Regions from separate parts of the Homo sapiens genome. Here region 2 is linked to region 1. The links are contacts of gene promoters, found by promoter capture Hi-C in human tissues and cell types (Jung and others, 2019). All regions are on one chromosome and are shown on one strand. The core of a region is centred on a gene start or on the middle of the fragment in contact, and the rest is flanking DNA. Distances in the headings are between cores, read along the strand shown. Region 1 holds the start of LRFN1 (leucine rich repeat and fibronectin type III domain containing 1). Region 2 overlaps LOC124904713 (a long non-coding RNA gene).

Evidence for each region. Contacts are between HindIII fragments. The study calls those that stand out against the background at their distance.
Region 2: a contact is called between a fragment that was not itself captured here and the fragment with the promoter of LRFN1 in region 1, in 1 of the 25 tissues and cell types used here (dorsolateral prefrontal cortex).

Annotation. Positions count from the first base shown.
Region 1 is chr19:39,319,390-39,322,479 of GRCh38, forward strand. It overlaps LRFN1 (leucine rich repeat and fibronectin type III domain containing 1), which reads right to left and starts at 1,474. Exons shown (of 5, transcript NM_020862.2): 1 at 1,404-1,474. RefSeq lists a silencer at 1,063-1,322. The HindIII fragment of the contact is 12,533 bases long and covers 1-3,090 here.
Region 2 is chr19:38,935,714-38,938,803 of GRCh38, forward strand. It overlaps LOC124904713 (a long non-coding RNA gene), which reads right to left. Exons shown (of 2, transcript XR_007067253.1): 2 at 1-1,139. Among named protein-coding and RNA genes, the nearest start is that of MRPS12, 6.3 kb to the left of the region's middle. The HindIII fragment of the contact is 4,061 bases long and covers 1-3,090 here.

The DNA of each region.
Region 1 (3,090 bases), core at 224-2,723:
ATGTTGCAAAGTTGATACAGCACCACGCTAACAGATACATACCTCACACACACACACACACACACAAAACCACAAGCATACAGATACGAGGCTGATCCACACTGGAACACGCACACAGGCACAAAAAGATCCACCTTTGCAGACACGCCAAGATGTTCACTCATAACAGACACATGCTCACACAACAGTCCTGTGATTTACACACTTCCAAATGCATAGAAAATACTGAACCACAGTAGCACAGTCAGTAGACAGGCCCAGATTCACACTCACACAGTCTTGGACACACATTCCTCCCAGCCCTGAGGCACCCCCCCACCACCCCACCTACTTACTTCCCAGGCCCAAGAAATCCTAACATCCCTGCAGCACATTCAGCATCCTGCCCTCCACACCCCCAAAAAACCAGGGCAAAAGCCAGGCCAGAGGTCAGAGTTCAGCAGGTGGAAACTCAAGAGGATTTGGGGGTTTGAGTCCTAGATCACCGTTTCAAGGAGATCCTCCCACCAGCAGCCCCAAAGGTTCCCCAGCCTGGCCATCAGGATGGAGGTAACTCTGGCTCCGTCTGCAGATGTCTGGCCGGTGGGGGAATTAGGGTGGAGTGGGTGGGGAAGGGCCGGGTCTTCGCCCCCCAACCCCCACCTCAGGGCCCATCTGTCCATTTCTCGGCCTCTCATCCCCCCTCCATCTGTCCACCTCCTGGCCGCCCATCCCCCCCCCGCAACCACCGGGAAGGGGAAGACATGGCCGCTTCCCCCAGGACCGCTAAGGACCCCCCAGTTGACATGGACCGAGGGAGCGGCGAACTCCCCTCCCCCAAATCCACACCGAGGCCTGGGCGCCGAGCCTCAGCCCCCAAGCCAGCAACCTGCCGTGGACTCACAGATACACACCCTCGGAGACATACAACCCGCAGACACACACACACACACACACACACACACACACACACAAATGGACACCCGAGCGGGCACACCCGGCTCCACAGACCCGGGGATGGACATCCAACCCGGACACAAACACCCAGAGCAGCTAGTCGCGCACGCACATGGGCTTGGGGGGGACCCACACCTGGGCACACAACCCACGCACACACACACCTGCACACAGCCCCTCCGATGGGCGCGCGACAGCGCCCAGACACACAGCCGGAGGGGCGGCCGCTCGGGGGGACACGCGTGCACAGCCGGACACGCCGGCCGGGCTCGACACCCCGCGCACACCCGATGGCCACACGGGCAGGGCGCCGCACACGCCGGCACCGGGCACACATAGGGCCGCGCGGGCGCACGCCGGGCCCGCCGCAGCGCCACGGACACACACTCGCACGCTCGCACGCTCACACCCGCGCACACACCCGCGCCCCCGCCCGCCGCTCCCGGGCCGCTGCAGGCCGCGCTCACCCAGCCCGGGGGGGCCCCGGGCCCGGCCCCGCCGCCGCTGCCTCGCTCCGCGCCATGGTGGGGGGAGGGCCGGGGGAGGGGGCGCGGTGCCGCGGGGCCGCCTCCCTCCCGCCTCCCGCCCTCCCTCCCGAGCCGCAGCCGAGCTCCGCCCTCCGCGCCGCCCGCCGCCACCGCCGCCGCAAGGGGGGAGGGGGCGCCGACTGGTGGGGGCGGCCGGGCGGGGCGGTCGCACACCCGGGATCCCCGCCCCGAACCCGCCGCAGACCCCTCTCCACTGCCGAGCCGCCGCGGGCCCGCCCCCGACCCTTCCCCAGCCCCACCCCCAGCCCCGCCGGCCTCCCCGGAGACCCCCCCAGACCACGCCCCAACTGGCCTAGGGACCCCGGATCTCCCTACAGAGACCTCCCATCACGTCCTAATACCCAGGGGGACCTCGGATCAGGCCTCACCTCTTTTGAGAACCCAGGCGATGTTCTAGGGCCACCCAGGACCACAAATCATGCCCTGCTCTCCTGCTTGACCTCAGACTATGACCCACACACTGTCAGGAACCCCAGACCATGCCCCCAAACCCAGAAGAATCCCAGATCATATCCCAGCATCCAAGGGGATCCAGACCACCCCACCAGCAACCCTAAATCATATCCCAACATTCAGATAGACCCCCAGACCACACCCCTTCCCTCACGGACCCCAAATCATACCCTAACATCGGGGGAGACTTCAGACCATATGTCAGCCAAATCCCAGATGGTGCCTGACTCCCTTTGGGGACCCAAACCACATTCTACAGCCACCAGAACCACAAATCATATTCCACTCCTTCTTGGGGACCCCCAGCCATGTCCTTCTACCCTCAAGGACCCTAACCCATTCCCTTACCCCCAGTATGAACTCCAAACCATGCCTAACTTCTAGGGGGCCCTAAAATGTCTCTTATCCCTATGGAAGACCCTTAAACTTTCCCCATGAACCCCATTAGACCCCAAACCATCTTCCACCCCTTTGACCTTACACCTTTCTCTCTCCTTCTCCTCCAAGACATCCTTTGGTTTCCAAAACTCCCCAATTAGCCCCAATTTTTTCCCACCCCCTACTAGTCCTGCCCCCTTGAGGACCCTGCCTCCTTCTTGCTCCAGTTCTTTCTCTTGGACCCTGAAAGTCCCCCCTCCCTGTGACTTCCATAGAGCCCAGAATGCCTTGCTCCTTCCTAGTTCAGACCCCTTTGCCCATCCCCTGTCCCATAGCTGAACCCCACCCCTTCCCTCAAACCCCACTGAGTATCTCAGGCCACTCTCCTTCTCTTTCTGAGATATTCACAGGGTCCCTAAACCCAGCAACTTCTCCCCTAAAAATCTGTGTTGTTTCATGCAGTGCCCCAGATTCCTGGGGTCTCAAACCCTTCTCGTTTTGGATCCCACTGTACAGAGGTCCTCCTCTAAACCCCTTTCCTAATTTTTTTTTTTTTTTAGACAAAGTCTCACTCTGTCACCCAGGCTGGAGTAGAGTGGCACGATCTCGGCTCACTGCAACCTCCACCTCCCAGGTTCAAGCAATTCTCCTGCCTCAGCCTCCCTAGTAGCTGGGATTACAGGTGTGCGCCACCACGCCCGGCTAATTTTTCTTTTCTTTTTCTTTTTTCTTTTCTTTTTTTTTTTTTTTTTGAGACAGAGTCTTGCTCTGTTGC
Region 2 (3,090 bases), core at 182-2,681, 380 kb before region 1:
AGCTTTGTCACGGTGAGCTACTTCTCACAGGAGTCAGGATCCGCATCTGCACACTATACAAAGACAAACAACACAGAGTAAAAGCACAATCATCATTGAAATCACAGAGCCTCCAAGTGTTTTTATCCATTTGAATGGGTTACTAGCTGCTAATCTGTCTGCAGCTCCTTCAAGCACTCCAGTTCCTGGCATTAAGTTCACGTGTGCCTGGGATACTTTAAATATTTGTTCTTTCAATTTTGCAATATCCAAATACAAGTTTGTAGAGTGGCCTTCTAGATGCTTTTTTATTCTTTCCCAAATTTTGATTTTATTAAGAGCTATTAACAGTTTCCACAAATGCTTATGTTTAGCTCCTAGAGCAGGCCATATCATTTGAGGCTGAGGTGCCACTATACTGCCATGGTTCCAGATAATAGGAACTCTTGCTGTATTTCTTACCATTTCTATCATCTGACCATTTTGTTCAGATGAGCTGATCACAGTGTGGCCATGGCATGCAGACTGAGAGGTGCAGTTCAAGCTAAACATCCCCATAGGTGACCAATTAATAATGATTCCATAGGAATTGTTGTGCAGCACCTCTGCCTGTTCTGCAAAGCAATCTTCCTAAACAAGTACGTTCATTTTTGCTAACTGGGTCCAATCCTGTTTACAAATATGTTTTTGAGGGCAGTATGCCTCAATTATAGGAGCAGATTTATTATGAGATCAGAAAGCTTGTATAACTGTGTCATAGAGTGATTACATCCAGGCATTATTGCCAGCCAAGATTGATAAATATGCCCAATAAGTATAATTGTCCTCTGTGTCAGCCCTTATTGAAGGAATACTCATGGCAGTGGTGATCATCGCTATCATAGCTACCATTAAATTACTCATTGCGACTGGTTGTCCCACTTTCCTCAGGTTTTCTTCCACCATCTGTGACAGCTTCTTGATCTGTCTCCAGGTGGGTGGCTGTGTTTGACAGGTGTTGCTCGTGACAGTTGGGGTCTTCCTCAGCGTCAGTCTCGACATGGCTGCAACCGGGGGTGGGGGGGGTCCTCAGTTTCCTCCCGGAATCTCTTCCTCAGCATCTGGCTCATGATAAGGTTTCAGGTGTCTTGATGGTATCCAAATCGGCTGTTGAGTCAGTCCTGGAGAAACACAAGCATAACCTCTACCCCAAGTTATTATTTTACCTATTTCCTAACTTTTTGTTATTGGATCTCTCCACCAAACTAGTTGTTCTGCTTCTGTCTTTGCAGCTGGTTTCTGTAGATGCTGTTCAGCTACTGATAGGATCTGGCCTTTAGGCAGGCTCAAAAAATTTAAAGTTAACAATGCTAGATTCAGTTGCATATGGGGTGTCCCGTAGTCCTTGTTTTCCCCCCTTTTTTTTGCTTTTGCAACTGCTGTTTCAGGGAGAGATTCATTCTTTCCACTATGGCTTGTCCTTGAGAATTATATGGGATACCAGTAATGTGTTTAATATTCCGTATAGAGAAAAATGTAGCTAGAGCTCGGCTAGTGTAGCCTGGGGCTTTATCTGTTTTAATAGAAGCTGGAATGCCCATCACTGCAAAACACTGCAAAAGGTGACGCCTGGAAGAGGTGTATGAGCCCTAATGTGAGTGATGTAAAAAGGGTGCATTCTACTCCTAACTGCTGTTTGCAGTTGGGTAAATAAAATCATCAGTTGTTCATCTGCAGGAAATTGTAACTGAGCATTTTCAGTTAATTGTGTGGAATGAATCACGTATGAAGAGTCAGAAATCACATTAATAGGCATATGAAAAGCAGTCACTACCTCAATTACAGCTACAGGCTCCACTTTTTGAGCTGAAGTATAGGGCATCTGAAAAACTTTACTTTTTGAGCCAGAATAAGAAGCTTTACCATTACTAGACCCATCTGTAAAAACATTTTCAGCACCTTCAATTGGTTTAAATTTAGTTATTTTAGGGAGAATCCAATTAGTTAATTTCAAAAATTAAAACAGTTTTGTTTAGGAAAATGGTTATCGAGAATACCCACAAAGTCAGCTTAATTGGTTTGCCAAGTAAGACTATTTATAAAAGCTTGCTGTATTTGTGCCTTTGTGAGAGGGATAATAATTTTTCCAGGATCATATCCATGTAATTTAACAATCCGAGTTCTCCCATTTCCTATCATAGTAGCAATTTGATCCAAATAAGGAGTTAGAGTCCGTGAATTAGTATGTGGAAGAAAAAGCCACTCTACAAGATCTCACTCTTGAACAATAACACCAGTAGGTGAATGCTGAGTTGGAAAAATTAGCAAATCTAGAGTCTTCTCTGGATCTAATCTATTTATTTGAGCTTTATGGACTTGCTTTTCGATTAGCCGCAGCTCTGCCTCAGCTTCTCTTGTTAATTACCGAGGGCTTGTGAGACCAGGATCTCCTCTAAGGATAGAAAATAGATTACTCATGGCATAGGTAGGAATGCCTAGAGCAGGTCGTATCCAATTAATGTCCCCTAGTAATTTTTGAAAGTCCTTTAATGTTTTCAATTGATTCCTATGTATGGTTGCTTTCTGTGGCACAATGGTAGTGTCATTTACTAAGGTCCCCAAGTAGGAGTAAGGAGTAGTAGTCTGAATTTTGTCAGGAGCTATAATTAAACCAGCGCAAGAAATCGAATTTTGTAAGTGATCATAACATTGGAGTAATACTTCTCGAGTGGGGGCAGCACAAAGTATATCATCCATATAATGAATAATGTAACACTGTGAAAACTTTTAACGAGTAGGTTCAATTGCTTGCCCTACATAAGTCTGGCAAATTGTTGGGCTGTTTAACATGCCTTGTGGCAATACTTTCCAGTGAAAACGCTTAGCAGGCTGCAGGTTGTTTACTGCAGGAATTGTAAATGCAAACTGTTCACAGTCTTGCTCAGCTAAGGGGATAGTAAAGAAACAGTCTTTTAAATCTATGACTATTAAAGGCCAATTTTTTGGAATCATAGCAGGAGAAGGCAATCCTGGCTGTAATGTACCCATGGGTTGTATAACTGAATTAATGGCTCTTAAGTCAGTTAACATTCTCCGTTTATCTGATTCTTTTCTTAATTACGAAAACTGGAG